Linked DNA regions of Homo sapiens: all the other regions are linked to region 5. Evidence: promoter capture Hi-C in 16 types of primary human blood cells and fetal thymus (Javierre and others, 2016). All regions are on one chromosome and are shown on one strand. Each heading gives the region's core, a stretch centred on a gene start or on the middle of the fragment in contact. The rest is flanking DNA. Distances are from core to core; before and after follow the strand shown. Region 1 has its middle 44 kb from the start of LINC03125. Region 2 has its middle 70 kb from the start of LINC03125. Region 3 has its middle 92 kb from the start of NXT1. Region 4 has its middle 150 kb from the start of LINC01747. Region 5 holds the start of SSTR4 (somatostatin receptor 4). Region 6 has its middle 75 kb from the start of NXT1. Region 7 overlaps LINC03125 (long intergenic non-protein coding RNA 3125).

Region 1 (2,872 bases), core at 143-2,642, 160 kb after region 5:
CTGTAAGAGGGAAACTTTTTCCAAACAGTGAAGTTTACCAAACTGTGGCCTGAGATCTATATTCACATTCTAAAAAACCATGCCCAATTCCCCACGCTAACAGCAGCTCCAGACCAAAGAGCAGCTCTTGTCTTGACCAAAGTGAATAACTATCTTAACACGAGGTGACTAGAAACCATCTGTCTTGAGACCAGAGAGGAGACCTGTGGTCAGTGACGCTGTTCAGCAAATACTTGCCATTCCTGACCTCCAGGCTCAAGGAGGGATTGGCCACCCTGGTCCCCTAGGAAGATGGGGCCATGTGCTGGCTCTGGACAATGGTCATGATGGAAATGGCATCTGCTCTTGCAGGCCAAAGAGTTTAATTGCCTCCAGAGCTCTCCTTCCCTCTGCAACAGTGACCTACAATGTCCAGGTAGCAGTCCTTCCATCACCTTGAATCTCAGAGTAAGAATGACATGGAGTAGAGCCCCCCAGGTAAGCTGTATTGAACATGTAACATGTAGATGAAATCAACTGTTGTTTAAATTCACTAAGTGTGAATTACATAGCACAACTATACTTATCTTAATTGACACAAGATGAGTTTGTTTCTTAGCTGACCAATAGCAAAAATCCAATAAACAGATGAATAAATTAATAAATAGATGGATGAATGGATGGATGGATGGATGGATCAGTGGATGGGTGGGTGGATAGATGGAGCTGTTAGATATGGCTCTTTGTTTATAAATCTCAACCACAAACTTTGTCACTTCTCCAGAATAAAACTCCTACATGGTAGGGACTCTGTGAATGTTATTAAAATGAGAGAGCTATTAGAAGCCAAGAGATGAGGCTGATTTTTACCTCTGGCTTTAGAATATTTGGTGCCACTGTGTATAAGCTTTACCCACCATTGACAAAAAGGGACCCACTATGGACACCTCAGGAAGTTCTTCAGCCTGCAGGCACTTCTGTTCCGGGTAGGGATTCAGGTTATCTAAACTCCAACCAAGTGTGACCAATAACTCTTGTTGCTCCTATAGCCTCAGCAAGAACACAAGCAAATATGCTCTCATTTTTGATAAAAAGCATGTCTATGATTGTTGATGTGCAAATATAAAGAGCCAAGCATGGAGAAAGAAGAACAAGAGTTAAAACATACCTCAGTGACCACCACCAGCCCTTACATACCTGCCCTGTCCTGGTCCCCTTCTCCAGGTGCCCTCTTCAAAGTATCCCAAACCAGAGAAACAATATAACCAGTGACCATCAGGGAGATTTCAGTTCCAGACCTAGGACCTGCAATGAATTTCAGGGGAAAAGTGCTTTCCTTTTTTATCATCTACTCAGAGGATGTTGACTGACAGCTAAAACTACTCAAAGGGTACAAAATTCAGCCTTATGGTTTCAAGAATAGTCAACCCTGCATGTGAAATCATCAGAGAATGGAGATTTGCCCCCTGTCCAGGCAGGCTCTTAAATTTGCAGTTCAGATATAAAAAAAAGGTCTCACTTGTTTACTTATCTGTTTTGCATATATTTTTTATTTTCTGTTGAGTATGATATTTGATATAAAAAAAAAAAAACTTTTTAGCTGAGGATGGCTTCTGGGGTTAGCCAGTTCTTAGAGACAGCAGAAGACTCAGCTGGGAGCATGCCTTTGATGCACCAACTAACCCATCCAGAGCCATTCCCTTCTATCTGGCCTGTACATCTCAAAAGGCAATATTCCTCTACCTTGACAAGCCCAGGGCCAGCTACCAGGCAACTAGAGACCACCAAAAGCCCCCTAAAATTATTCCAATTGGCCAATTCTAAATTGTTCACACTGCCCTGTTTTGCCTTTTCCATCGAAACCAAAATAAGGACTGAGGTCCAAGCTGTCCCTAGCTCCTGTCTTCTGCCATCTGACCAAAGCTTGGTGCTTCCAATGTGGCCCTGAGTTGTATGTGGTGGCCTCCTCTCTGGAACTGTGCGTGTAGTCAACTTTGTCTTTCTCACGTCTCCTTGGTGGTGGCATCTGACTGATTATCTCATAAAGAAACACAAAACATTACTGTTTCTGTTTCTGATCTTTAAAGCCAATGAGAATAGACATGCCCAGTGCTGCTGGGCAGGGCAACAGGCGCTCAGCACTGCTGTGGGAAAATGAACTCCTGCAATCTTTCTGGAGGGCAAACATCAACAAGGCTTGCCAACCTTTAACATGTGCACACACTGCCTCCCAGCCACTCCAATTCTAGGAATTTATCCTAAGAAGATAATGAGTTAATTGCAAATATGAATATCCAAAAGTGTTTATCACTGTTTAACATAGAATCATGAAAATTTGGAAACAACTACCATGGACTATGGTAGGGGATGGAATAAATAAACTTTGATGCCATATGCAGTAGAATGCATAAAACCTGCATTTGAAAAAAGTATTGTGTGCCACGAGAAAATACTGTATGATAAAGATCTTTTAAGGCTCTATGACATTTTCTGTATGATTCCGTTTAATTGTGTAAGTCTGTATATAAACAATGCTATTAACATCAACATGCTCTGTGGTGGGTTATAGGAGATTTTTATTCACGTCTCAGTACTCTTCTGTATTTTCAAATTCTTGACTGTAAAAATCTACTTCTCTAGAATAAGAAGAAAAAATCTATAATTTTTTAATTGATGGGGAAACAAACCTTGAATGATAGGAACCAACAGTTTTGTCAGTTATTCATAATTAATGCTATCAGTATTTAGTAGTTCTCTTCAAGCATGCAGGTTTACAAAACACCACTGGTTTATCATCTTGTGAATCAAGACCCATTTTCTTGAGTATAGAGGCTCTGGCATGGTGAAAACACTGAACACTTAATTCACAAGAGCTCAAGCAAGACTTGGCAAA
Region 2 (2,979 bases), core at 322-2,821, 180 kb after region 5:
CAGTGCATGGACTTACCAACTGTAAGAACTTTTAACACATGACTTAACTTCTCTAACTCTCAATTTCTTAATCTGAAACCTACCTCAGAATATTATTGCGAAAACCAAATGAAGAAATGTATGTGAAAGTGATTTTATAATTAGTTTTGGGGTTTACTACATTATCATGGTTTTCTTAAATTTTTTAATTATTTCAATATTTTTGGGGGAACAGGTGGTGTTTGGTTACATGGACAAGTTCTTTAGTGATGATTTCTGAGATCTTGGTGCACCCATCACCTAAGCAGTGTACACTGTACATATTGTGTAGTCTTTTATCTCTCACTCCCCTCCTACACTTCCTCTCAAGTCCCCAGAGTCATTCTTGTGCCTTTGCGTCCTTATCGCTTAGTTCTCACTTATGAGTGAGAACAGAGGATGTTTGGTTTTCCATTCCTGAGTTACTTTACTTAGAATAATGGTCTCCAACTCCATCCAGGTTGATATTAATGCCATTATTTTGTTCCTTTTTATGGCTTAGTAGTATTCCATGGTGTGTGTGTATATATAGATATAGGTATAGATAAAGATATAGATATATAGATATAGATATATAGATATAGATATAGATATAGATATAGATATAGATATAGATATAGATATATCCCACATTTTCTTTATCCACTTGTTGGTTGATGGGCATTCAGGTTGGCTCCATATTTTTGCAATTGCAAATTGTGCTGCTATAAACATGCATGTGCAAGTATCTTTTACATATAATGACTTATTTTCCTCAGGGTAGATACCCAGTAGTGGAATTACTAGATCGAATGGTACTTCCACTCTTAGTTCTTTAAGGATTCTCCATACTGTTTTCCATAGCGGTCGTACCGATTTACATTCCCACCAGCAGTTCCCTTTTCACCACATCCACACCAACATCTATTATTTTTTGATTTTTTGATTATGGCCATTCTTGCAGGAGTAAGGTGGTATCACATTGTAATTTTGATTTGCATTTCCATGATAAAAGTGATGTTTAGCATTATTTCACATGTTTGTTGCCATTTGTATAACTTCTTTTGAGAGTAGTCTATTCTGTTCTTAGCCCACTTTTTGGTGGGATTATTTGTTTTCTTCTTGCTGAATTTTTTAAGTTCTTTGTAGATTCCAGATATTAGTCCTTTGTTGGATGCGTAGTTTGGGAATATTTTCTCCCACTCTGTGGATTGTCTATTTACTCTGCTGATTATTTATTTTGCTGTGTAGAAGTTTTTTAGTTTAATTAATTTCCATCTATTTCTCTTTGTTTTTGTTGCATTTGCTTTTGGGTTCCTGGTCTTTGCCTAAGCCAATAGATGAATTTTTCTGATGTTATCTTCTAGAATTTTTATGGTTTCAGGACTTAGTTTTAAGTTTTTGATCCATCTTGATTTGATTTTTGTGTAAGATGAGAGATAAGAATCCAGTTTCATTCTTCTACATGTGGCTTGCTAATTATCCCACAAACATTTGTTGAATAGGGTGTCCTTTCCCCACTTGATGTTTTTGTTTGCTTTGTCAAAGATCAGTTGACTGTAAGTACTGGGCTTTATTTCTGGGTTCTCTATTCTGTTCTATTGGTCTACATGCTTGTTTTCATACCAGTACCATGCTGCTTTGATAACTATAGCCTTGTAGTATAGTCTGAAGTCAAGTAATGTGATACCTCCAGATTTGTTCTTTTTGCTTAGTCTTGCTTTGGCTATGTGGGCTCTTTTTTGTTTCCATATGAATATTAGGATTTTTTTCTAGTTCTGTGAAGAATTATGATAGTATTTTGATGGGAATTGCATTAAATTTATACATTGCTTTTGGCAGTATGGTCATTTTCACAATGTTGATTCTACCTGTCCATGAGCATGGGATGTGTTTCCATTTGTTTGTGTCATCAATGATTTCTTTCAGTGGCGTTTTGTAGTTCCCTTGTAGAGATCGTTTACCTCTTTGATTAGATATTTTCCTAACTATTTTATTTTTTGCAGCATTGTAAAATGGGTTGTGTTCTTGATTTGATTCTCAGCTTGGTCACTGTTGGTGTATAGCAGTGCTACTAATTTGTGTACCTTGATTTTGTATCCTGAAACTTTACTGACTTTATTTATCAGATCTAGCAGCTTTTTGGATGAGTCTTTAGGGTTTTCTAGGTAAACAATCATGTCATCAGCAAACAGTGATGGGAATTGCATTGAATTTATAGATTGACAGTTTGACTTCCTCTTTGTCCATTTGAATGCCCTTTATTTCTTTCTCTTGTCTGATTACTCTGGCTAGAACTTCCAGTGCTATGTTGAATACAAGTGGTAAAAGTGGGCATCCTTGTCTTGTTCCAGTTCTCAGGGGAATGCTTTCAACTTTTTCCCATTCAGTTTAATGTTGGCTGTGGGTTTGTCACAGATGGCTGTTATAACTTTAAGGTATGTCGTTTCTATGCCGATTTTGCTGAGGGCTTTAACCATAAAGGAATGCTGAATTTTGTCAAATGCTTTTTCTGCATCTATTGAGATGATCATGTGGTTTTTAATTGTGTTTATGTGGTGCATTACATTGATTGACTTGTGTATGTGAAGCCAGTCCTGCATCCCTGGTATGAAACCCACTTGATCATACTGTATTATCTTTTTGATATACTGTTGGATTTGTTTCACTAGTAGTTTGTTGAGGATTTTCGCATCTATGTTAATCAGGGATATTGGTCTGTAGTTTTCTTTTTTTTAAAATTATGTCTTTTCCTGGTTTTGGTATTAGGGTAATTCTGGCTTCATATAATAATTTAGGAAGCATTCCCTCTTTCTCTATCTTTTGGAATAGTTTCAGTAGGATTGATACCAACTCTTCTTTGAATGTCTGATAGAATTCAGCTATGAATTCATCTGGTCCTGGGCTTTTTTTGTTGGCAATGTTTTTATTACTGTTTCAATTTCACTACTTGTTATTGATCTGTTCAGAATTTCTATTTCT
Region 3 (3,108 bases), core at 317-2,816, 220 kb after region 5:
TAAAAACACCCAGGAGCACACGTCCTCATACACGTCGTTTTGCATTTGCCCTTAATAACAAGGACAGCTCAGGAAACGTAATTTGGCAGTTCAGCCCTGGAAGCCTTATTCCCACCTTCCCACCTGTTCTTTCCAATAGCTCACCTTCCCCAGCAGCGGCCAGCCCTGCAGTGTCACTCATCATTGATAAGACCCTGGAAGGCGTGTTCTGACCCCGGGAGCACAAACACAATAGACACAGAGACAGATGCCTCCCCCGGGAGCAGATGAGCCCAGCCCCTCCCACTTCCCCCAGACCCTGCCCTCCATCCTGGCTGGAGCCCAAGGGGCCCCACGCCCACCCAGGAGGAAGAGGCTCCGCTTCCACACCGGGTTCCAAGAGACGCACCCCCACCTCAAGGCAAGTGTACCAGTGCCAGGCCAGAGAGAAGCTGGCCACTTTTCTCTCCCACAGTAAAAGTGCTATGTAAGCAGAAACCCACCCAGCTACTTAAGCGCACAGACCTGTCTATTCGGGCAGCGATTCCTCAGCTCCACACCCAGCATACTGAAGAAGTTGGGAGTTGCAGGTGAAAAAAATCACTCAGGGCTTCCAGGTTTCTACAACTGCTTAGCAGACACCTTACTCATCTGAGCCCTCACAGAGCACTGTGACCACAAATAGGCCAGCACTTTCATTTCCAATCTACAAATAAAAAATATCAGGCGCAGAGCTCTTTCTCAAGGAGGCACAGCTAATGTCAGAGCCCAGGCTCTGCCCCAGGCTCAGGGCCTTCAATAATCCTGTGCTACCTAAGGAGCAGTTTTTATCCTGTGTGGTTTGTCTGGAAAGGAACACAGCCCCCATCCCAGAAGGGCGTGCCTTCATGCTCACACCACAGGGTCACCTCATAGGCTGCCATCCCTTTTCTCCTCTGTCAGTATATACATGTTTCCACCTGAGGATCAAGAGAAGTGTGGCCCAGTAGCCGGGGAATTGAAGCAAAAAGACCTAGATGTGAATCTGGTCTCTGCTGCCCTGGGCAAGTGTGCTACAGTGTTCCAATCACAGCTCATTCAAAATCACGAGAGGATAATCACCCCTGCCTGGCATCGCAGTGCAGAGGCATAAAAGCAGCATTTATAAAGCCCGATGCCATACCTCCCAGAGTGAGCCTTATCAACAGCAGCCATCATTATGCCATTAAACACTCAAAAGGCTTTCTTTAGAGGAGAAAGGATTGCATCATTGATTAGAGGTTGGCCTGAATTTGTGCAAATGTTGTTGGTGAGAAAGCTTGGTGCCTGATGACTGATAAACCCAGAATGCAATATTGCTAGGATTTTTTTATAGTCAGCCTCCTCTTTCCAATAACCCCCTGCTCACTCCTAAGCCACTTAGGCTGAGCAAGAGGGAATTAACCTGGGCGAGTCCAGAGCGGAAGCCTGAATGGCCCATTCATCTTTCAGTAGCTGACAATGGGTTGCATATTACTTTATAAGCTCTACAGTTTAGTGTCAATGAAGCCTCGGTGTTTTTAAAGCTCCTGTTATGCCATCATTACTTCAGATATGTGGAAAATTCACTTGCAAGCATAACATTTTTCACAGTTTGTGATTTGTATCAGGAAGTGACTCAACTTCCTCTAGGCTCCAAGGCAGTCATAGCTGGGAAGGGGAAAACTCTGTCTGCCAAGACCAAGGGAACCAACCAGCTGCATCATAAACCACACCATTGTGGAATATATCCTGCTAATCTGGCTAAAGATGACTGCAGGACAAAATTTCCAGGGTGAGAGTGCCCTTCAAGAGCCCAGCACATTGGGAGAAAATAGACTAAGATCAAAAATCCCTATGCATTCTAGAGCAAAACCATAAAAGCTTATACCAAAGATCAAGGGTTGCAAGCCATCTGACTTCTCTGCAGCCACACTGGAAGCTACAAGACATAAATCAAAGACATAAGACTTTCTCTTAGCTGCGTGTGGTGGCAGGTGCCTGTAATCCCACCTACTCAGAAGGCTGAGGCATGAGACTCGCTTGAACCAGGGAGGTGGAGGCTCCCCAGCCCATTGCCCAGGCTGGAGTGCAGTGAGCCGAGATCACTCCACTGCACTCCAGCCTGGGTGATAGAGTGGGACTCTATCTTAAAACAAAAAAACAAACAAACAAACAAAAACTTTCTCAATTGTGAAAGTAAATAATTTGCAACCTAGAATTCTATACCTGGTTGTCTTACTCCATTCAGGCTACCATAACATAATGCCTTAGATTGGGTAATTTATAAACAACTGAAATTAATTTCTCACAGTCCTGGAGGCTGTAAAGTCCAAGATCAAGGTGTCAGCAGATTCAGTGTCTGACGAGTGCTCAGTCTCTACTTCATAGACAGCCAGCCCCTCCCTGTCTATGCAAATGGTGGAAGGGACAGATAAGCTCCCTGGGGTACTAATCCCATTTATGAAGGTTGAGCCCTCATGACCTCATCACCCCCCAAAAACCCCACCTCTTAATACTATTGCACTGGGGATTTGGTTCCAACATAAGAATTTTGGGGGGACAAACAACATTCAGATCATAGCACCAGCCAGTCAATTAAGTAGGAAGGTAGACTGTAGACATTTTCAAATATGTGAGATCTCAGAAATGTTCCTTCACTTCTCTCTCTGAAGAAGCTACTGGAGTTTGTACTCCATCAAATTAAGAGAATGAATCAAAGAATGTGGTGAGACAGAATCCAAGAAGCAGAAAATCCAGCACAGGAGAGGAGAGGAGACTCTCTGGAGGAACTCCAAGTGAAGATGCCAGGATGGCAGTGATGCACCAGATCTAGACCTCAGTCCAGACTGGAGGAGTCAGGGGCTCTAGGAGAGACTTCTTCAAGAAAAAGAAATTAAGAGTATCTGGTGTGGATATCTTAAGTAACTGGAGGAGAGTTTGAGAATAAATTAGTGATTTGTATTTGAAAAGTACAAAAACACAATCATGAACCCCAGGAAAAACAAAAAGTCATGTAAGCAGGAAGAGCAATCATAGTACTACCAGGCTCAGTTGTCAATGAGGGTGACATTACCACAAAATAAAAACGCTGAATAGGGGGACTTCACAAAACCTGCAGTGTGATTGTCC
Region 4 (2,806 bases), core at 41-2,540, 200 kb before region 5:
ACTGAGTCAGGGCAGTCATGGGGACTGGGCTTAAACACAGGTTGTCCAGATAGGAGGCTCTGCTGGCCCTGGAATGAGAGCCTAAGAGATCTATCAGCATTCTTTTTTTTTTCTCGGAGTCTTGCTCTGTCGCCCAGGCTGGAGTGCAGTGGTGCGATCTTGGCTCACTGCAACCTCCGCCTCCTGGGTTCAAGCAATTTTCTGCCTCAGCCTCCCAAGTAGCTTGGATTACAGGTATTTGCCAACTCGCCCAGTGAATTTTTGTATTTTTAGTAAAGACTAGGTTTCACCATCTTGGCCAGGCTGGTCTTGAACTCCTTACCTCGTGATCCACCCGCCTCAGCCTCCCAAAGTGCTGGGATTACAGGTGTGATCCACCACGCCCAGCCAAGAGATCTATCATCTTTCCTAGAGATGTGAGTTGATGAATAAGACTGGTACTTGTCTATCTTTTAGACTTTGGTTAATAGACTGTTCTCCGAGGTGGACCATAGCATTAAATGGAAGCTTGTTGCACTATCTGGAGAAATGTTTGTCAAATAGAATATTTTAGGGTGTATGTGTATGGGTTAAATTCAGGAAATATGCACCACCATAAATATTTATGAAGCTATTAGGTTAGTGCAAAAGTAAAATAATGGCAAAGACCGCTATTACTTTTGCACGAATCCAATATAACTGAAACATCCTGTTGTTTTTCCTCTTCTATCTCTGAAACACACCTCCTCTCCATCCTTAGTGACCCCTTCATGGTGATGTCGGTGTGTTTTAATATCTTCAGGAGTCCCTCTCCTCTCCTAATGGCTTTTTCAACAGCCAGACAGCAAGACCTAAGCAGGGCCAGGCCATCCTTGTAGGCGCCCCTGTGTCCTAGGGTGCCTGATAAGTGCTGGCTGCTGTGAGTTACTGAGTAACACCTTGTATTTTGTCAACAATCTGGGTAACAAGCTCACCCAAATTTTAATGAAAACACATTTACAATGTGTGAATTGTGTTCATTTTTAAAGCTTGAATTGTATCCATTTTAAACCTTATTCTATAGCACAAGTAACTGCCACTTTGAGTTGTATAACTTTAGATGGGCCTTGTGATTTCTGAGCCCAGGAACAAAATGTGTGTAACAGGAGTGATCAGGCTTGCCTAATAACTTTATGAGAATTAAATAAGATAAGGAACATGAAACCACTCCATCGAGTATACAGTAGGGGTATTTTAATTTTACTTTAATTAAAGGAATTAAAATGGGATATGAAATGTATGAAATGAAGTGGATTGCTGCAGAATAGCTCTGACAACAGGGACAGGCATGTTTGGGAACACTGTCTCAGTCCCCTCTTCTAGGTCTGCCTCCTGCAAGAGCAACAGCTGGGCTTGGCCGAGGCCAGGCAGGTACTATCCATTACACTTTACTGTTAAGGCTTTTCAACAGCTATTGAAGGAACTGACCCACTGTAATGTCAAGTTTTCAACAACATAGGAAGAAAATAAAGAAATGCTAAGGAAAAATTGTTTTTGCTGCTTATAAATAAAAGTACAAATTGATATTAGAAGAAAAATGCTATAATAGATAACGAAAAGCTTTAGTGAGTATTAAAAAGGAAAAAAAAAACAAGGTGTAAGGAAGAAAGAGCTAGGAGAAAGCAGGCTGAGCTCATCAGGCCTGCTGTGGTAAAGATGTAAAAGTTTGCCATTTTGAAGAATAAAAATATGACTTTATGGTTTATATCCTGAAATCATATGCTCTATTACACCATCAGTTTCTTTCTCACTGAGATGAGTGCTCTTTTTCCTTACAATAAGTACATTTTTCTTTTTATTTTTACTAGGATCCAAGACTTCAAAGAAAACCTATAAATTTAATAAAGTTTCTCCTGAAACCTACAACAAAGAAAACAATGACAAAGGAATTGCCCACAATTCTGTGACTCCCAGTGAATACCACAGAAGAGATGGCCACACTGGGCTCTGCTACCAGTTTTTAGAATCGTGAGACAATGCAGTAGTAGAAAGAAAACTAAGAAAATCAAGTTTCTGGGCTGCTATCTGCCTGTTTCAAGCCTCAGATTTTGCAAATATCTATTTTATAGAATCAGCAGAAGCAAGCCAATAATGTCTTTATGCAGTCTACTTGAAAGCAAAAATAACAAAGACGCCAGTCAATACTTTGAAAATGATGTTTATACTAGCCTGGGACTCATTGTTTGCTATGTTTATTAATACAACTAAACAAGAAATCCTCTCCACTTAAAGGCAGCACAGAGAGGATTTCATGTTGAAGAAATGCCCACAGTAGTGACAGTACAACTTGCAGAGGACTAAGTCATCTTTTCTCACATGCTGAGTCCTAACACCTAATTATCAGCTAACACCATTTCTGATGTTTTAGCATAGAAACCTTTATTATCTTAACACTGGATGCTAATAAGACATTGTTAATTTCTAAAACAAACAAACAAACATGGACCTAAAACCTGACTTCCCTAGGAAATAAAAACCCTTTCCTTGAACACCACAGACTCTACAGAGTACAAAGTGCTAGCAAATCATAAGCATTCCCTTATAAATATCAAGATCAATATTGAAGTAGCTCAGGATTGTACTTGACAGGATTTGAGCTTTATTGGTGGAATCTTAAGGTCTCCCACAGTGGTTTTTGGTGTTGATAAAGTTGGCATTTATTTATGACTTGAGTCCTTGCCTGGGGGCTGCAGTCAGAAGCAGCAGGATTTTGTCTAAAGCCAAAGACTTCCTTCATCCTCAGAAAGGAAGCAAGGAGCTGTTTTTCCTCTTCTCATTTGTCCTGCAA
Region 5 (3,167 bases), core at 635-3,134:
TATGGGGAGAGGAGGGCAGAATCGGGGAGCATTAGGAGAAAAACCTAAAGTAGGCACAGGAAAGATTCCAGGGGCTCACACATGAGGCAGGACAAGAAGAAATACTTTCTCAGGAAAGGGAAGGGGCCGAGTGTTCAATGGGCAGAGAGGACAGCAGAAGAGAGGAGACCAGGAAGACAAGATAGCCCCCAGCACTTCCACACTAAGCCCTGGAAAGGCTATCTGCAGAGGAGCCACCTAAGGGTCTTCCCAAGACCAGGGTTAAAGGGAAAAGCCCCTAAACTCCTCTTCCCTCCCAAATCTGAGGTTGCTCTTGTTCCCTTCCACCAAAGGATGGCACCAAGTAGAATGACAAAGGTGCCATCTCCTTCCTCTTTCTCAGGGAAGGGTCTCTCTCTTAAGGACAAAGATGTGAAAGGTCTCTCTCTTAGGGACAAAAAGGAAAGGACAGACCAACCTACAGAGTGGAGGAGTGCTAGACCAAATCCTCCCAATACATCTATTTGAGTAGCAGAGACTGGAGACAGTGGTTGAGGTCAACTATGGGGCTGCACTGGTGCTGATCATGCCCGTGCTCCCATCCCACACCTGGATAAACAGCAGTGGGCAGCTTCCCCCACCCCCCAGTCTTAGAAAGGCCTCCTCCAGTTGCAACAGGACTCCCTCCTCCCCATCGCTGTCCCAGCCACCCAGCGGAAAGCTGAGACCCCACCCCCCAGGTGGCCAATTTTAGACCCACTAAAGGCCTTTCTGGGCTGTACTGGGGGCTAAAGGGGGCCACCATCCCACAGAGAAGGGGCCAAAGACAGCCAGGATCCTAAAAGTCAGAGCTACTTTAAGAATAACTTTCCCAGGCCAATCCCCAGTTCAGGAACGTTCCTGTGCCCTGTGCCAGCTAGAGGGACTAGGGCTGGAGCCGGCGGCTGCTCCTGGGTGTCCAGTCCAGGAGCCAGTGAACTCACTATCTCTGGAGTTTAGCAGAAGAAGGGTAATTCCAGGCCGGAACCCCTTTCTTTCCCGACCTCTCGACCACAGTCCTCCCCAGGCACATTTTAGTGGCCAGGGATGGAGACCCGCGGATAATGACTGAACCAGGTCACAGGGTGAAGGTTCTGAGATGTCCGGCTCCCGTAGCTTCTGCCAGTTCCCGAGGGAGCTAGCACAGGCTTGGCCTTCTTTGGTGGCATCTCTGCCTCCACCTGTCCGTCTCCATTCCTTGTGCCCATAGCACCTCAGCTGCTCGGACACAGAAGTTAAAAGGTCCGGCATCTGCACTTGTCCAGAGTGGGTTGGGGAGCAGAGAAAGGAGTGGTGAGCTGTGGGGAAAACTGGACATCCTGACAGACCTGAAATTCACCAAGCCGCCAGTGGAAGCCTCAGGTTCCGCCTCTATAAAAGGGACTCAGCCATGTGCAAGGATGGGTCGTCGCGAGGATTAAAGGGCAGGGTGAGGGGATGTCAAGTGCAAGGCAAGTGGTCCAAGCTTCCAGGTGGTCCCTGACCAGTTCCGGGCACATCTTTACCCAAAGGGAGGACTCCGGGACCCCCAGCCCCGCCGCCGCAGACCCCCTGTAGCAAAGCAGGGAACTGGACCTCAAAGGGCTGCTGGGGAAGACGGGATCTGAATAGAGGTCTGAAGGAAAGAAGCCAGGCGGGGGACCCCGGGAGGGCCGGACGGGGCTGGGGGTGCTGTTGACACTGGAGCCGGACTGGAGACCTGGGAACCTGGGGCAGAGTCGGCAGCGGGGAGGGGGCGACCGAGGTGGGAAAACGGGGCGGGGCCGGAGACGACTCCAGGGCTGGGTGAGGCGCTGACCCCCAGGAGCTGGGGTGCCGAGGGGCGCGGGCCACAGCGGTGCGAGCCAGTCGGGCGCCCGCGCGGTGGGGCGCGCGGCGCGGGGATTGGCGGGCGCTCCCCGGTGCCCGCAGCTCTTCAGCGTAGCCGGGAAGAGCCGCGCGTCTGCGCGCCAGCCCCCGCCCTGGGCCCGCCGCCCGAGCTCTCTGGCGCAGCGCTAGCTCCGCCGCGCTCAGCTGCCCTGCGCCGGCACCCCTGGTCATGAGCGCCCCCTCGACGCTGCCCCCCGGGGGCGAGGAAGGGCTGGGGACGGCCTGGCCCTCTGCAGCCAATGCCAGTAGCGCTCCGGCGGAGGCGGAGGAGGCGGTGGCGGGGCCCGGGGACGCGCGGGCGGCGGGCATGGTCGCTATCCAGTGCATCTACGCGCTGGTGTGCCTGGTGGGGCTGGTGGGCAACGCCCTGGTCATCTTCGTGATCCTTCGCTACGCCAAGATGAAGACGGCTACCAACATCTACCTGCTCAACCTGGCCGTAGCCGACGAGCTCTTCATGCTGAGCGTGCCCTTCGTGGCCTCGTCGGCCGCCCTGCGCCACTGGCCCTTCGGCTCCGTGCTGTGCCGCGCGGTGCTCAGCGTCGACGGCCTCAACATGTTCACCAGCGTCTTCTGTCTCACCGTGCTCAGCGTGGACCGCTACGTGGCCGTGGTGCACCCTCTGCGCGCGGCGACCTACCGGCGGCCCAGCGTGGCCAAGCTCATCAACCTGGGCGTGTGGCTGGCATCCCTGTTGGTCACTCTCCCCATCGCCATCTTCGCAGACACCAGACCGGCTCGCGGCGGCCAGGCCGTGGCCTGCAACCTGCAGTGGCCACACCCGGCCTGGTCGGCAGTCTTCGTGGTCTACACTTTCCTGCTGGGCTTCCTGCTGCCCGTGCTGGCCATTGGCCTGTGCTACCTGCTCATCGTGGGCAAGATGCGCGCCGTGGCCCTGCGCGCTGGCTGGCAGCAGCGCAGGCGCTCGGAGAAGAAAATCACCAGGCTGGTGCTGATGGTCGTGGTCGTCTTTGTGCTCTGCTGGATGCCTTTCTACGTGGTGCAGCTGCTGAACCTCTTCGTGACCAGCCTTGATGCCACCGTCAACCACGTGTCCCTTATCCTTAGCTATGCCAACAGCTGCGCCAACCCCATTCTCTATGGCTTCCTCTCCGACAACTTCCGCCGATTCTTCCAGCGGGTTCTCTGCCTGCGCTGCTGCCTCCTGGAAGGTGCTGGAGGTGCTGAGGAGGAGCCCCTGGACTACTATGCCACTGCTCTCAAGAGCAAAGGTGGGGCAGGGTGCATGTGCCCCCCACTCCCCTGCCAGCAGGAAGCCC
Region 6 (2,921 bases), core at 377-2,876, 240 kb after region 5:
CTGGGAAAATGAGGCCATGCCATGTGTGGACAATACACTCCCAGGTACTGTCAATCATGCTGGTCCAGGGACCCCACTCTGAGCGGCAAGGATGTGGAGCACCTCTTCCAAAACTGCCTGCGAGGCATGGGGCACAGTGGGCCCAAGCCTGGACCCCCTTGGTCCTTAGGGCATCGGGGCAGCCAGACTCAGGGGGCCAGAGCAACATCCTTTGATTACCCCAGGTCATCACAAATACTTGTCCCATAAATACATTTTTCTTTGTGTATCTTGACATGAAGGTTGGAAGTTCTGCATAGCTCTGTGGTTCTTAGCATTTACTGGGGCACAGACTCCAATGAAAGCAATGGGATCCCTTACCCTAGAAGGTAACTCACAATATAAAAAGCTTTGCCTTCAATTTCAAGAAGTCCGTGGATTCTCTAAACTCATGCATCATTCAGATGAAAACTAGTGCTATGCCTGCAATGTTTCCAACTCCATTATACAGTTTTGAAACGCTGTGGGCACATCCGCTCCTCATGGCCCGCAGTGTCCCAGGTCTGAGTCTGAGAATGGTTTTCTAATTATGGCCCCTTCACGTCAGAACTTTGACCCTCATCATATGATTCCACCAAATAGCAGTGGAAATGCTCACATTAACTCTGAAAGCAGTGGTGGCGCAAACTCCATGTTGTCAGAGACAAAGTTGTTTCAACAAAACACGCCCACTGCAAGAAACTGTAAATGCTGAATTTAAATTGTTTCGGGTTTATTTATATTTAATTTATAAATGTGGGTTGGTTTCATAGTGGTCTAAGGCCCGTAAGCAACAAGGACTTACATCTACTTTGAGGTTTGTACAGATTCAGATAAATTACAATAAAATAAGTCAACACCAAAAAAGAACAAAAATTATTTTCCCATTTAAAAGGAATTTGCACAATTCCAAATTTGAAAAACGCTGCCCCATAAGTCCCCAGGCTATGCCAGAAACTCAAACCCTCTCTCCCTGCAGATTTGCTGCAGAGCAGCCTCAGCTCAGCAGGCTCCACGCCTACCTAACCTGAGGTGCTGGGTCTGCGCCATGGTGAAGCGGATGGCGTTCTTATGAAGCTTAAGGGCTTATGAAGTGGATTTTGCCTGCGACACATTCCCCATGTTTTGGCGTCAGAGGCTGGCCTGGTGATGTTGCCTGTGGGCTGTGAGCTCAGGGCCTCCTGCTGCCCTGATGCCCTCATGCCTTTCCCATTTACCTCTCAGTCCACCAGGTATTTCCACCGTGGGGGTCTCTTCTGTCAGAAACATAGATCACCACCTTTGACAAAAAGGCAAAGACAGTGAAGGAGAGGAAGGGAGAGTGGAATTCACTCTGCTTTCCAGCCACGGGCCAGGTACTTAATCAACACATACACGGAATTAACCACTATCATCCCCTCTTTACAGACTAGGAGGCTGAGGCTTAGCAGGTTAAATTTCTTACCAGGGTCACATAACCAGCGAATGGAAGAGCTGAAGTGAGAATGTGGGTCTCTGCGGCTCTTTCCACATGGCCCATTGTGCCTTTGGATAATTTAATTCATGACAGCACTTCATTTTCTAAACAAATTCCTGATGAATGGGAAAGAGGAGGTTTTGAAGGGAAAGGAAGAATATTAGAAATATGAGGAACAAAAACCTTAGAACACAGAGAAATATCTCAAGGAGGAGAATGAGTAGACATAGCTGGGGTGTGTCTATGGGACAAAGAACAACTTGCTCATTGAGAGGACTTGGGAGGTTGAGAGAGAGAAAACTCACCAGGCCAACTCTGCTGTTGTCCTGATTTTCTCGAGTTCCCACTGGAAACATCAGTAATACCTGCTGATTTATTTAGGTGCTTATATAAAGTTTCACAAGTTTAAAGTAGTGCTCAGCTGGTTATGTATTCCATCCAACCATCCAGTGAGTCTTAGAAAGTGGATTAGTCGGGGTCTCCAGAGAGACAGAACCTGTAGGATGTACAGGCATATCTAATTTTATTGTTCTTGCTTTATTATGCTTTGCAGGCATTGCATTCTGTACAAACTGAAGTGTTATGGCAACCCTGTGTTGAGCAAGTCTATGGGCGCCATTTTTCCAACAGCATGTGTTCACTTCATGTCTCGATGTTACATTTTGGTAATTCTTGTAATATTTAAAGCTTTTTTGTCATTATTATATCTGTTACAGTTGTCTGTGGTCAGTGATCTTTGATATTACTATTGTAATTGTTTTGGGGCACCACAAACTGCACCCATATAAGACAGTAAATTTAATCAATAAATATTGTGTATGTTTGTTCCATCATCCAGCTGTTCCCGCATCTCTCTGTCTCACCTTGGGCCTCTCTATTCCCTGAAGCATAACACTATTAAAATTAAGACAACTAGTAATCCTACGGTGAACCTCTAAGTGTTCAAGTGAAAGGAAGAGTCACACATTTCTCACTTTAAATCAAAAGCTAGAAACCATTAAGCTTAGAAGATAGGCTTCTTGTGCCAAACAGTTATTCGAGTTGTGAATGCAAAGGAAAGGTTCTTGAAGAAAATTAAAAGTGCTACTCCAGTGAACACATGAATAATAAGAAAGTGAAACATCCTTACTGCTGAATTTGAGAAAGTTTTAGTGGTGGAGTTAGAAGATCCAACTAGCCACAACATTCCCTTAAGCCAAAGCCTAATCCAGAGCAAGGCCCTCTGCTCTAATTCAGTGAAGGTTGAGAGAGGTAAGGCAGCTGAAGAAGAAAAGTTTGAAGCTAGCAGAGATTGGTTTATGAAGTTTAAGGAAAGAAGCCACCTGTAAAAGCCATAATGTAAAAGCACAAGAAACTGCAGCAAGTTATCAAGATCTAGCTAAGATAATTAATGAAGGTGGCTAAACTAAACAGATTTTCATAGATGAAACAGCCTTCTATCGCAAGA
Region 7 (3,047 bases), core at 489-2,988, 130 kb after region 5:
GGCCCCAGAGCACACAGGGTGTGGATATGATGTAGGCATCAAAGACAGGTGAGGTTGGTAAGGAATCTTGGGACAGATAAAGAAAGTCTTAGCATCAAACAAAGGGTCCCCTCTTTTTCCTAGAAGTAGCAAGAAAACCCTTGAGGTGTTTGATCCAGGGCATAGCACAGTGAGACATGCTTTAGAAAATTAATGCAGGGCTTGCTTTGGTTTAGGTTCACTCAAATCCAAGTCATTGACTCCCACCTATTTAGAAGGTTCAGGGATCTCCAGGAGGGAAGTGGGGATAATGGTGCCATGGAATGGAGCTCTGTCAAGCCAGCATTACTAGGTGGGCAACGGAGCTTAATGCTTGCATAGAGGCTCTAGGAGACTGGGCAAACCCCGGGCCTCAGAGGCATCCTGGGCAGGGCAAGGGAGCTGGTGTGCTCTGAGCAGCTGGCTCGGGCCTTGGCCAGGAGCTCCTCCCGGGATGCTTGTTTCCTGCACTTCCAGGCACCTGCAGTGTGGGTGGCACAGCCCCAGTGGCTCTGGGAAGAGCCTTTAGGAACCAGAATGACTACACCAGCAGGTCCTGGGAAGTTGGGCAGAGCCCTGGGAGGATGGGCGGGACACGGCCAGGTCTGCCACAGAGAGAAAAGGGCCAAGGAGGGAAGGTGGGCAGGTGGCATCGTGCAGAAAGGTAAGATCTGTGTGTGAGAGCACTCTTGTGAGATTTCCACAACCATTTATTCTACCTGGCTTTAATTTTTAGAAACTTAAATGTTAGAAAACACTAATTGATGGCCGGGCACGGTGACTCGTGCCTGTAATCCCAGCACTTTGGGAGGCTGAGGCGAGTGGATCACTTGAGGTCAGGAGTTCAACACCAGCCTGGCCAATATGGTGAAACCCTGTATCAACTAAAATTACAAAAATTAGCCGGGCATGGTGATGGGCGCCTGTAATCCCAGATACTTGGGAGGCTGAGGCAGGAGAATCGCTTGAACCAGAAGGCGGGGGTTGCAGTAAGCCAAGATCGTACCACTGTACTCCAGCCTGGGTGACAAAGCAAGACTCTGTCTCAAAAACAAACAAAAAAACAAACAAACAAAAAACACTAATTGAGAGGTATAAGCAGAAAACATCTGGCATGACTAGCTATCACAGCCTTTCCCCACCAAAGACAAAACAAAGCAGATCTTGGCATCAGTGTGTGAATGTGGCAGCACACAGGAGACAACGAAACTGGGTCATCCCAGGAAAAGCCCTGCAGAAGGTCCCATCTTCAGCCATAGAATTTTTCCCAGGCCTTCCTTGGATGGGCTCAGTTGGGATGTTTTTCTTTTGTCTGGCTTCTTTGGATCAGTTACAGTGTTTTGTGAATAACTACTTCATTCTTTGTTATTGATGAGTAATACTCCATTGTATGGATGCATCACAGTTTATTTATTCACTCAAATGGCCACGGGGGCTGATTTCAGTCTAGGGCCGCTGGCTGAATTAAGCTGCTGCAAGCACATAAGGACAAGTCTTCTTGTAGACATGTTGTCCTTTCTCTTGGGTAAAAACCTCCGAGTGAAATTGCTGGTAAGTTAAAGTTCCACTTTATATATACTAAAATAAAAAGCCACCAATCTATTTACAAATACAAATGGTGGTGGAACTTACCATTGATATTTTTTAAAAACAACAATACTTGAATGATCATTATCAAAAGAATAGAAAATACTAAGAAGTTTCAAAACATAATTTAAATTATCTGAAATAGCTTCAAGTAGCAACAACCTTTTTTTAAATTATACCTTAAGTTCTAGGGTACATGTGCACAATGTGCATGTTTGTTACATATGTATCCATGTGCCATGTTGGTGTGCTGTACCCATTAACTCATCATTTACATTAGGTATATCTCCTAATGCTATCTCTCCCTGCTCCCCCAACCCCACGACAGGCCCCGGTGTGTGATGTTCCCCTTTCTGTGTCCAAGTGTTCTCATTGTTCAATTCCCACCTATGAGTGAGAACATGTGGTGCTTGGTTTTTTGTCCTTGCCATAGTTTGCTGAGAATGATGGTTTCCAGCTTCATCCATGTCCTTACAAATATCATGAACTCATCATTTTTTATGGCTGCATAGTATTCCATGGTGTATATGTGCCACATTTTCTTAATCCAGTCTATCATTGATGGACATTTGGGTTGGTTCCAAGTCTTTGCTATAGTGAATAGTGCTGCAATAAACATATGTGTGCATGTGTCTTTATAGTAGCATGATTTATAATCCTTTGGGTATATACCCAGTAACGGGATGTCTGGGTCAAATGGTATTTCTAGTTCTAGATCCTTGAGGAATCACCACACTGTATTCCACAATGGTTGAACTAGTTTACAGTCCCACCAACAGTGTAAAAGTGTTCCTATTTCTCCACATCCTCTCCAGCACCTGTGGAGAACATATTCTTGTCAATACTTATTTGATTGCAAAGAACAGAAATGATGTTAAGCAAGAAAAAGAAGGGATTTTCTCAGAGGGACACAGAGGTGTCTCTAGGTGACAAGGGCTAGGAGATGCAGCTGAGCTTCATGGTAATGACTGATCCCCACGTGGCCATTCTCATTCTCTCTCATCTCTCACTCTGCCTCTCCCTGGGCTGCTGGGCCTTTTCTCTCCACTGCCCCTATTCTAGTGTCCCTGCTGCAGAACATCTCTTGCTGGTTCATGGCACAGCGTGGCCTCCCTCCCTGAGTTGTCCTAATGCAAAAGCATTTGTGCACAGCACTGGCTGTGTGCCGGGACCCTTTGTTTCTATTCTCAAAAGAAAGAATCTAACTGGCCCAGCTCTGCTCAGCTCTCCATTCCTGGTTTTATCAATGTGGCTCGAACAGGGTCCCTGACACAAACCTGGCCACTAGGGAAGTGAGCAGGAGTAGACATTCCCGGGGAGAGTCGTGAGTAGGAAAACTGGCAAGTGTGGCTAACATGGCGCCTCCACCAAATGCCTTGCTAAAGAATACGCTCTACATCTGCTTTCTGAAAATGTAGTGATATCTTGTGAATACCCTTCCA

Evidence for each region. Contacts are between HindIII fragments. The CHiCAGO score rates a contact against its expected background, and 5 or more counts as called.
Region 1: a contact is called between a fragment that was not itself captured here and the fragment with the promoter of SSTR4 in region 5, in 2 of 17 cell types (neutrophils and monocytes). The highest score is 7.9, in neutrophils.
Region 2: a fragment that was not itself captured here is called in contact with the fragment with the promoter of SSTR4 in region 5 in 2 of 17 cell types (neutrophils and monocytes); the score reaches 9.9 in neutrophils.
Region 3: a fragment that was not itself captured here is called in contact with the fragment with the promoter of SSTR4 in region 5 in 3 of 17 cell types (monocytes, M0 macrophages and neutrophils); the score reaches 9.4 in monocytes.
Region 4: a contact is called between a fragment that was not itself captured here and the fragment with the promoter of SSTR4 in region 5, in 2 of 17 cell types (megakaryocytes and M0 macrophages). The highest score is 5.7, in megakaryocytes.
Region 6: a contact is called between a fragment that was not itself captured here and the fragment with the promoter of SSTR4 in region 5, in 1 of 17 cell types (monocytes). The highest score is 6.7, in monocytes.
Region 7: a contact is called between a fragment that was not itself captured here and the fragment with the promoter of SSTR4 in region 5, in 1 of 17 cell types (neutrophils). The highest score is 10.0, in neutrophils.

What each region holds. Positions count from the first base shown.
Region 1 is chr20:23,190,545-23,193,416 of GRCh38, forward strand. No RefSeq gene overlaps it. Among named protein-coding and RNA genes, the nearest start is that of LINC03125, 44 kb to the left of the region's middle. The HindIII fragment of the contact is 1,016 bases long and covers 885-1,900 here.
Region 2 is chr20:23,216,878-23,219,856 of GRCh38, forward strand. No RefSeq gene overlaps it. Among named protein-coding and RNA genes, the nearest start is that of LINC03125, 70 kb to the left of the region's middle. The HindIII fragment of the contact is 8,690 bases long and covers 1-2,979 here.
Region 3 is chr20:23,256,994-23,260,101 of GRCh38, forward strand. No RefSeq gene overlaps it. Among named protein-coding and RNA genes, the nearest start is that of NXT1, 92 kb to the right of the region's middle. The HindIII fragment of the contact is 584 bases long and covers 1,275-1,858 here.
Region 4 is chr20:22,838,514-22,841,319 of GRCh38, forward strand. No RefSeq gene overlaps it. Among named protein-coding and RNA genes, the nearest start is that of LINC01747, 150 kb to the left of the region's middle. The HindIII fragment of the contact is 571 bases long and covers 1,006-1,576 here.
Region 5 is chr20:23,033,428-23,036,594 of GRCh38, forward strand. It overlaps SSTR4 (somatostatin receptor 4), which reads left to right and starts at 1,885. Exons shown (of 1, transcript NM_001052.4): 1 at 1,885-3,167. The coding sequence starts at 2,057. RefSeq lists an enhancer at 2,426-2,972. The HindIII fragment of the contact is 5,481 bases long and covers 1,482-3,167 here.
Region 6 is chr20:23,273,851-23,276,771 of GRCh38, forward strand. No RefSeq gene overlaps it. Among named protein-coding and RNA genes, the nearest start is that of NXT1, 75 kb to the right of the region's middle. The HindIII fragment of the contact is 1,066 bases long and covers 1,094-2,159 here.
Region 7 is chr20:23,166,252-23,169,298 of GRCh38, forward strand. The region is part of intron 2 of LINC03125 (long intergenic non-protein coding RNA 3125); the gene reads left to right. Among named protein-coding and RNA genes, the nearest start is that of LINC03125, 20 kb to the left of the region's middle. The HindIII fragment of the contact is 5,643 bases long and covers 1-3,047 here.